Linked DNA regions of Homo sapiens: regions 1 and 2 are each linked to region 3. Evidence: promoter capture Hi-C in 16 types of primary human blood cells and fetal thymus (Javierre and others, 2016). All regions are on one chromosome and are shown on one strand. Each heading gives the region's core, a stretch centred on a gene start or on the middle of the fragment in contact. The rest is flanking DNA. Distances are from core to core; before and after follow the strand shown.

The links. The method cuts DNA at HindIII sites, captures the fragments that hold promoters and counts their contacts. A CHiCAGO score of 5 or more calls a contact.
Region 1: a fragment that was not itself captured here is called in contact with the fragment with the promoter of MXD1 in region 3 in 15 of 17 cell types (non-activated CD4 T cells, naive CD4 T cells, naive CD8 T cells and 12 more); the score reaches 12.5 in non-activated CD4 T cells.
Region 2: a fragment that was not itself captured here is called in contact with the fragment with the promoter of MXD1 in region 3 in 10 of 17 cell types (monocytes, naive CD4 T cells, neutrophils and 7 more); the score reaches 11.9 in monocytes.

What each region holds. Positions count from the first base shown.
Region 1 is chr2:70,165,785-70,168,484 of GRCh38, reverse strand. All of the region lies in intron 6 of C2orf42 (chromosome 2 open reading frame 42), which reads left to right. Among named protein-coding and RNA genes, the nearest start is that of C2orf42, 24 kb to the left of the region's middle. The HindIII fragment of the contact is 4,037 bases long and covers 1-2,700 here.
Region 2 is chr2:70,126,009-70,128,708 of GRCh38, reverse strand. No RefSeq gene overlaps it. Among named protein-coding and RNA genes, the nearest start is that of LINC01816, 2.0 kb to the right of the region's middle. The HindIII fragment of the contact is 2,621 bases long and covers 78-2,698 here.
Region 3 is chr2:69,913,807-69,916,506 of GRCh38, reverse strand. It overlaps MXD1 (MAX dimerization protein 1), which reads right to left and starts at 1,398. Exons shown (of 6, transcript NM_002357.4): 1 at 1,104-1,398; 2 at 287-386. The coding sequence starts at 1,176. RefSeq lists a silencer at 795-1,024 and enhancers at 1,675-1,874, 1,975-2,084, 1,567-2,172, 2,185-2,234. The HindIII fragment of the contact is 7,248 bases long and covers 9-2,700 here.

The DNA of each region.
Region 1 (2,700 bases), core at 27-2,526, 250 kb before region 3:
AACCCCATCTCTACTAAAAATACAAAAAAATTAGCCAGGTGTGGTGGCGGGTGCCTGTAGTCCCAGCTACTCGGGAGGCTGAGGCAGGAGAATGGCGTGAACCCAGGAGGTGGAGCTTACAGTGATCTGAGATTGCACCACTGCACTCCAGCCTGGGTGACTAAGTGAGACTCCATCTCAAAAAAAAAAAAAAAGGATCCTATAGCTGGGCATGGTGGCAGAGGCCTGTAGTCCCAACTACTCAGGAGGCTGAGGTAGGTGAATCACTTGTCGCCCAGGCTGGAGTGCAGTGGCGTGATCTTGGCTCACTGTAATCTCCACCTCCCAGGTTCAAGCAATTCTCCTGCCTCAGCCTCCCAAGTAGCTGGGATTACAGGCACGCACCACCATGCCTGGCCAATTTTTTGTATTTTTAGTAGAGATGGGGTTTCACCATGTTAACCAGGCTGGTCTTGAACTCCTGACCTCAGGTGATCCACCTACCTCGGCCTCCCAAAGTGCTGGGATTACAGGCGTGAACCACCGTGCCCAGCCCAGAAAACAGAATATTGATAATACTATAAGCTAAACACTTGTAGTCCTCTTCCATCCCATCCTATTCCCTCTTCCATCCCATTCCTGTACCACCCTCTATTCCATCTTACCATCTCCATTACTACCACCTTTGTCCAGGTTTCCATCAGCTCGCTCCTTGACTATGAGTGTGTGTGTTTTACCTTTTTGAAGTTAATTCTTTTTTATTTTTTGAGACAGTCTTGCTCTGTCACACAGGCTGGAGTGCAGTGGTACAATCTCAGTTCACTGCAACCTCCACCTCCCAGGCTCAAGAAATTCTCGTGTTTCAGCCTCCTGAGTAGCTGGGATTATAGGCATGTGTCACCACTCCTGGCTAATTTTTGTATTTTTAATAGAGACAGGGTTTCACCATGTTGGCCAGGCTGGTCTCGAACTTCTGACCTCAAGTGATCCGCCTGCCTAGGCCTCCCAAAGTGTTGGAATTACAGGTGTGAGCCACCACACCTGGTCTGGACAGAATTTTTAAGAAAGACTGAACTCACTTGACCCCCTCCCCTTAACTCTTTTTGTTGACCTAATGTCTGACAAGTTTCTTTTCTTTTTTTTTTTTTGAGACAGAGTCTCACTCTGTCGCCCAGGCTGGAGTGCAGTGGCGTGATCTTGGCTCACTGCAACCTCCGCCTCCCAGGTTCAGGCGATTCTCCTGCCTCAGCCTCCCAAGTAGCTGGGACTACAGGCGCATGCCACCATGCCCGGCTAATTTTTTGTATTTTTAGTAGAGATGGAGTTTCACCATGTTAGCCAGGATGGTCTCAATTTCCTGACCTGGTGATCCACCTGCCTCATCCTCCCAAAGGGCTGGGATTACAGGTGTGAGCCACTGTGCCTGGCCGCAAGGTTCTTTAAGAGGTTGGTTAAGTACTTTCAAGTATTTTACCTGCCTTGAGGTCATATTCAGAGAGAAAGACAGATGCTTGCTGGGTAAGCAGTGTCCTAACTTGTAGTCCCTCAGCATTCATGGTGCTGACCATCGGGTGAGAGAGCATGTCATTAGTTTGCTTAGACATGAATGCAAATAGCAAGAACCTGGGGATAGCGAGCAAAAGGGAATCAAGTGGAGGCAGCCACCTCGGCCTCATTGTTCTCATCCCATCTTACTTCGCATACCCTTTAAGGGGGAAAGTCTGTGCTGTGTTGGTCTTTTTAAAATTTGCGGATTTGAAATGTTATACTTGGTGGATGACAAGGGTCTACTGTGTTGGTTTGTTTTTTCATTGTCTTTTTTCTTTTTTTTCAGTGGAGTCTCACCCTGTTGCCCAAGCTAGAGTGCAGTGGCATGATCTCGGCTCACTGCAACCTCTGCCTCCTGGGTTCAAGCGATTCTCCTGCCTCAGCTTCCTGAGTAGCTGGAATTACAGGCACACACCACCATGCCCAGCTAATTTTTTTTTTTTTTTTTTTTTTTAGTAGAGATGGGTTTTCACCATGTTGGCCAAGCTGGTCTCGAACTCCTGACCTCAGGTAATCCACCCACCTCGGCCTCCCAAAGTGCTGGGATTACAGGTGTGAGTCACCACGCCTGGCCTCTCTTTTCTTTTCTTTTTTTTTCCTTTTTGAGGGAGGGTCTCACTCTGTTGCCCAGGCTGGAGTGCAGTGGCGTGATCATGGCTTACTGCAGCCTCAACCTCCTCGACTCAGTTGATCCTCCCACCTCAGCCTCCCAAGTAGCTGGGACAGCAGGTGCATACCACCACGCCTGGCTAATTTAAAAAAAAATTTTGGCCAGGCACGGTGGCTCACGCCTGTAATCCCAGCACTTTGGGTGGCCGAGGTGGGTGGATCACGAGGTCAGGAGTTTGAGACCAGCCTGGCCAACATGGTGAAACCCCATCTCTACTAAAAATACAAAAATTAGCCAGGCGTGGTGGTGCACGCCTGTAGTCACAGCTACTCAGGAGGCTGAGGCAGGAGGATTGCTTGAACCCGGGAGGCAGAGGTTGCAGTGAGCCGAGATCATGCCATTGCACTCCAGCCTGGGCAACAGAGTGAGACTCCATCTCAAAAAAAAAATTTTTTTTTATAGACACTGGGTCTTTCTTTGTTGCCCAGGCTACACTGTGTTTTTTATGTTTGCAAGGGATCAACAGTAGGACTAGTGACAGTTCTTGGCCCAGAAAGGTCAAT
Region 2 (2,700 bases), core at 139-2,638, 210 kb before region 3:
GCAGTGAGCGGAGATCGCACCACTGCACTCTAGCCTGGGTGACAGTGTGAGACTCCGTGTCAAAAAAAAAAAAAGCTTTCCCAAACTGGAAAATGCATGCTGTCTTGCGGCATGGTCCTGGGCATCTGTGAGGGCCTGCACTGACCTCTGAAGTATCTCCATGTCCAAGGGAGTACAACAATAAATAGTAAATAAAAACATCATGACAGGTTGAGAGAGAGACTGTAGAAAAAATGAAAGGGCTTTTTTCATCCTTTTATGAGAAAGGGGCCCATATTTTCATTTTCCCCTGGGCCCCAAAAATTATGTAGCCAATCCTGCTGGCAGATAAAACATTCCTGAAGGAGGTAGCCAGAAGCCTAATAATATTCTGGGGGTATTGTGGCTTAAGTATGTCAGCCCTGTCCAAATGTAGAACAATGCTGGGGGCTATTTCAAGCCACGTGAAATGTCAACACCTGTGGTAAAGGACTATTAGCAAAGCTAATGTGCAGAGTCTGCACACATGACAAGAAAAAAGTCAACTTGCTAGGAGGGGTTTGTTGGCTGTTTAGCTTTATCTGGACAAGGGAAAAAGTGGGTAGAAAAGGCTCTCTGGCTAGTTCCTCCTTGAAGCAAGAACTCAGCTTGTTTCTCTGGATAGTCTGTGGTCAGATATAACAATGGAAACTTCAGGAAATCTTTATTTAAAAAGAGAAGGTATCTCCCCACACCTTCTTCAATATTAGGTGCCACCAAATTCTGGCTGTTGATCTGTTACTCAACAACAACAAAAAATGTCTTTTGTTTATTTTTATGTCTGATTCCAAGGAGAGTTGAACTTATTTAAAGTGGGTCTTTAAAAAAAATCACTTCAGATGTTTGTTTCTTTTGAATTTTCCATTGGTATTCATTTTCTTATTTATTTGCAAGCACTTCCTACATAGCAAGAATAACAACATTTTGTTTTCATGTGTGTTGCAAATAGGTTTTCCCAGTTTGCCTATTGTTTTTTAACCTTGCCCGTTTGGAATAGCTTCAAGCCACATCATCTGATGGGAATGGAGGTCACCCTAACAGTGATACTGCAATGTCACTAATTCAATAACCACCAAATTTACTGCTAATAATCGCCAACATTTACTGAACATGCACCATATGCTTCATGTGCCATTAATCCACAAAATTACCCTATAAAGTAGGTACTATTTTTAGTTTCATTTTGTAGATGAAGAAACAGAAATAGGAGAGGCTAAGTAATGTGCCTAGTTACCCAGCCTAGTAAGGGATGGAATGTGGGGCTTGAACCCAGCCCTGACTCCTAAGTCCAGTTTCCAACCCTGCACTGTCCAATACAGTGACCGCAGGTAGCTATAGAGCACTTCACATGTAGCCAGCCTGATTTCAGAGACCAAGTGTAAAAAAAAGAATGTCAGATATCTCATTATTAAAAAATTTTTTTTTCAACAGGGTCTTGCTTTGTCACCCAGGCTGGAGTGCACTAGTGTGAACACAGCTCACTGCAGCCTCAACTTCCTGGGCTCAAACGATCCTCCCACCTCAGCCTTCTGAGTAGCTGGAATCACAGGTGTGTGCCACCATGCCCAGCCTCTCATTATTAATTTAAAAATTGGCCAGGTGTGATGGCTTACGCCTGTAATCTCAGCACTTTGGGAGGCTGAGGCAGGCAGATCACCTGAGGTCAAGAGTTTTGAGACCATCCTGACCAACAAGGTGAAACTCTGTCTCTACTAAAAATACAAAAATTAGCCGGGCATGATGGCATGCCTGTAATCCCAGCCACCCGGAAGGCTGAGGCAGGAGAATCGCTTGAACCCAGGAGGCTGCAGTGAGCCAAGATCGCACCACTGCACACCAGCCTGGGCAACAGAGCAAGACTCCATCTCAAAAAAAAAAAAAAAAGTGCCTACTGAAAAATTGTTAACATGATTCTGTTTACATTTCTGTTGACAGCATCTTCTATCCACTTTCCTACATAATCATCCTTCACTTGGGTGAAGACAGTCTGTGTGATCACCTGAGTCTTCTCTTCTCTAGTTATATCAAAAGGCTTGCGCCTTTTAAATCTGTTGATAAACTGAAACCTCCTTGCTTCCTGGTTTTCTTACATGAATTGAGATCATCCCAGGACCTCACTGTCTTGAACAAGCTCAGTTCTCTCCACTCTTCCTCACAGATGATTTCTCATAGGACCAAATTTTGTCATCCTTGTTGTCCACATCTCAATATTCTCCAGGTTATGGCTATCTCTATCCCTCTTGCCCTCCAAAATGAGACCACAGGCGGGGCACAGTGGCTCATGCTTGTAATCCCAACACTTTGGGAAGCCAAGGCAGGCAGATTCCTTGAGCCCAGAAGTTGGACACCAGCCTGGGCAATGAAGTGAAACCCCTTCTCTACCAAAAAAAAAAAAGAAAGAAAGAAAAGAAAATAAATTTTTAAAAAAGGGGAGACAATCCTCCAGAGAACCGTTGCAGATGTCCCAGAAAGGTGATGCTCCCAAGTGCACAGGGACAGAAAGTAGAATGGTGGTTGCCAGGAGCTGGGTAGAGGGGAATGAGGGAGTTGTTTCACGGGTACAGAGTTTCAGTTTAGGATGATGGAAGAGTTCTAGAGATGGATGATGGTGGTGAGTGCACAACCACGTGACTATTTAGTGCCACTAAACTGTACACTTAAAAATTGATTAAAATAAGCTTT
Region 3 (2,700 bases), core at 149-2,648:
TTGAAGCTTCCACAGATTTTTTTGTTCCAAAAGGGAAGAAAAGTGAAATTAAATTTTGAATAAAGTTCATAAAGAAATGTAAAACATTTCTATTTTTCTTTTCAGTTCCCTCAACCCAAACAGAAACAGCTTCCTGCAATGGCTTAAGTCCATGTGTACATTACTGAATCATGACGGCCACAATGTAATTTTATAGGGTTATAATCACAACAGAAAACTTACATTCAGCAGTTTGTGTCACCTACAATATAATCTAAAAGACAGAAAGAAGTATTTACCAAATTACCTGCTACTGCTGTTATTCTTTTTGGATTTGTTCCTCCGTTTTAAGGCATCTCTGTCCTTGTTATTGTATGGTAACATGGAGGCATAACCATGTTCAGCTTCTAGAAAACAGGAGGATCCAGTTAATGAATGGGCCCAGAATATTTAATGCTCTCTCCTCTCTACAGTATTTCCTTTTTCCTTTATTTATCTTTAAAAGAATATTGTGGAAATAATTAAATGGAGTAAGGTGGAATTCTGAGAACAATGATTTAAAAAAAAATTGTGTGAATATCGTCAATTCGGAGCAGGTGTAAGGAGGATTCCAGCTGCTCATTGTTGAGAAAGACACAGTAGTGGCTAGGCTCACGCAGCCTGGGTTTCCCACTGGCTACATCCAGCAGGTTGGTGCGGGTTAAGTGGAACCAGCTCAGGCGAAGGTGCGGGGCAAGCACCGTGAGCCGGGGACCGGGAGGCGCTGCTCCTCTGCCCAGGAGACTGGGGCGCCGGGCCCACCTGGGGGCCGGCCGGGACCAGCCCGGGTGAGGTAAACCAGGGAGGCTATCGGAGGGGGCCCCGGCCACCCACTCGTGAAGGGCTGGGGAAGGGGCGGCGTTCGGGACCCCGGCGGGCGGCAGCCCCTTCTCCACCCCATTCATTGCTTTGGGGCAGCGGCGGCTTCCCTTCGGACCGCGCGTGGGGAGAGCCAGAGGGGTTGGGAGCGCTCGCGGTCTCCCCGCCTCCAACCACCCCCGGAGCGGCTGGGCGCCCGGACCTGAGGCCGGCCCCACAGGACCCCCGGCCTCGTTTCGAGTGGACCCCTCCCCGTCCCCGTGCACCTCTCTCCCGCCGCTCCAGATAGTCGGCCGCCTCCAGCAGCATCTGGATGTTCATCCGAACCGCCGCCGCCATTCTGCACCGGGGGCCGGAGCCACGGGACCAACCCCCACTGCCCACGGGCTCGCTGCCGCCGCCGGACCGCTGTGGAGCCCGCTATGGAGCCCGCTGTGGAGCCCGCTGTGGACCCCGCGGAGCAGGGCTGAGGGAGCCTCTCTGGCAACCACGCTCGACAAGAGAGGGAGGGGGCCAGTGAGCTGGGCACCGCCGACACAGTGACAGAACCCGGAGCAGAGCAGCAGCCGCCACCGCCGCGGAGTGTTTATCCCCGACTCACCATCTCCCCGCCCCCAGCCCCTTCTCTTGACAGGCCAGCTTCGGCCGCGTTCCTCATTGGGCCCCCCAAAGAATGCCCCGCCCCTACACTTGTGCGATTGGGAGAGGGCTTCAGGGCTCCACCCCGCAAAGTCCGCTCCTCTCGCTGGTTGGTCACACTTGACAAGGCCCGGGCTCCACCCCCTCTTTCCAACTGGTGACAGGATTCGCAACTCCGCCTCGTGCTCCTTCCTTGTTTCCCATTGGTTCTATACCAACAACCCGGGCCCCCTTTTGCTTTGTTAGTATTGGCCAAGAGCTGCAGAAGGCAAGCACCTCGCCGGTCTCCCATTGGTGAAGCCTTCGGAAACCTCCCAGCTACGATGATGTCACCTTTCTCCAGGCCAGGCGAGCCCTAAGTGGCTGATGGTCAGCAGCCTGGCTGCTCCTCACCGGGTCTGGCATTGGCTGGGAGGGCCGGTCCGGCGCTGGGCGGCGCTGATTCACCAGCCGCTGCGGAGCTCTGCTCCACCCGGCCTTGCCTCGGACCTGTTGCCAAGACCTGTCCCCGGGGAAAACTTCCGGGGACCTGCCAGGCGTCCATCGAATGGAAGGCTGGCACCTCGTGTCGCCTGGGCGCTCTGCCCCGCTTGGGTTCGGGGCCGGAGCCCTCGGTCTGGTGGCCGCGGCCCTGGAGGTTCTGGGCTTCGCGGAACTCGGGCTGGCGAGGGCCCAGCCTCGAATCCTCCCGAAGAGCGGTGCAGGCTAGTGGCCGGTGAGCCGGGAGCTAGGGCAGGCGCCACGTGGCTGCTGCGGGGCTTGAGAAGAAAAGCCGGCCGTTGTTAAATGCTCGCCGCTCGGCGTTTTTTCTGCCCTCAAGAAAGAGCTGGAATCGGGCTGCAGTATACAGCATTGAGCTCATGCGCCTTTTCCGCACCCCCCTCCACCCCCGGGAAGTGATGGAATAATTAATTACTTTCACGCGAGCGGCTTTTTAAAGCTCAGAGACTTCCTGAACCTACAGAATGGCATTAAACCCTAAGATTCTTTGCTTAAATCTCTTTTGGGGTTTTCCCCTCCCTTTTAATTCTAGATGAAAACACTCACAAGATTATTGTTTTTGTTTGTTTGTTTTGAAAGGGAGTTTTGCTCTTGTCGCCCAGGCTGGAGTGCAATGGCGCGATCTCGGCTCACTGCAACCTCCTTCTCCCGGGTTCAAGCGATTCTCCTGCCTCAACCTTCTGAGTAGCTGGGATTACAGGTGCCCACCACCACGCCCGGCTA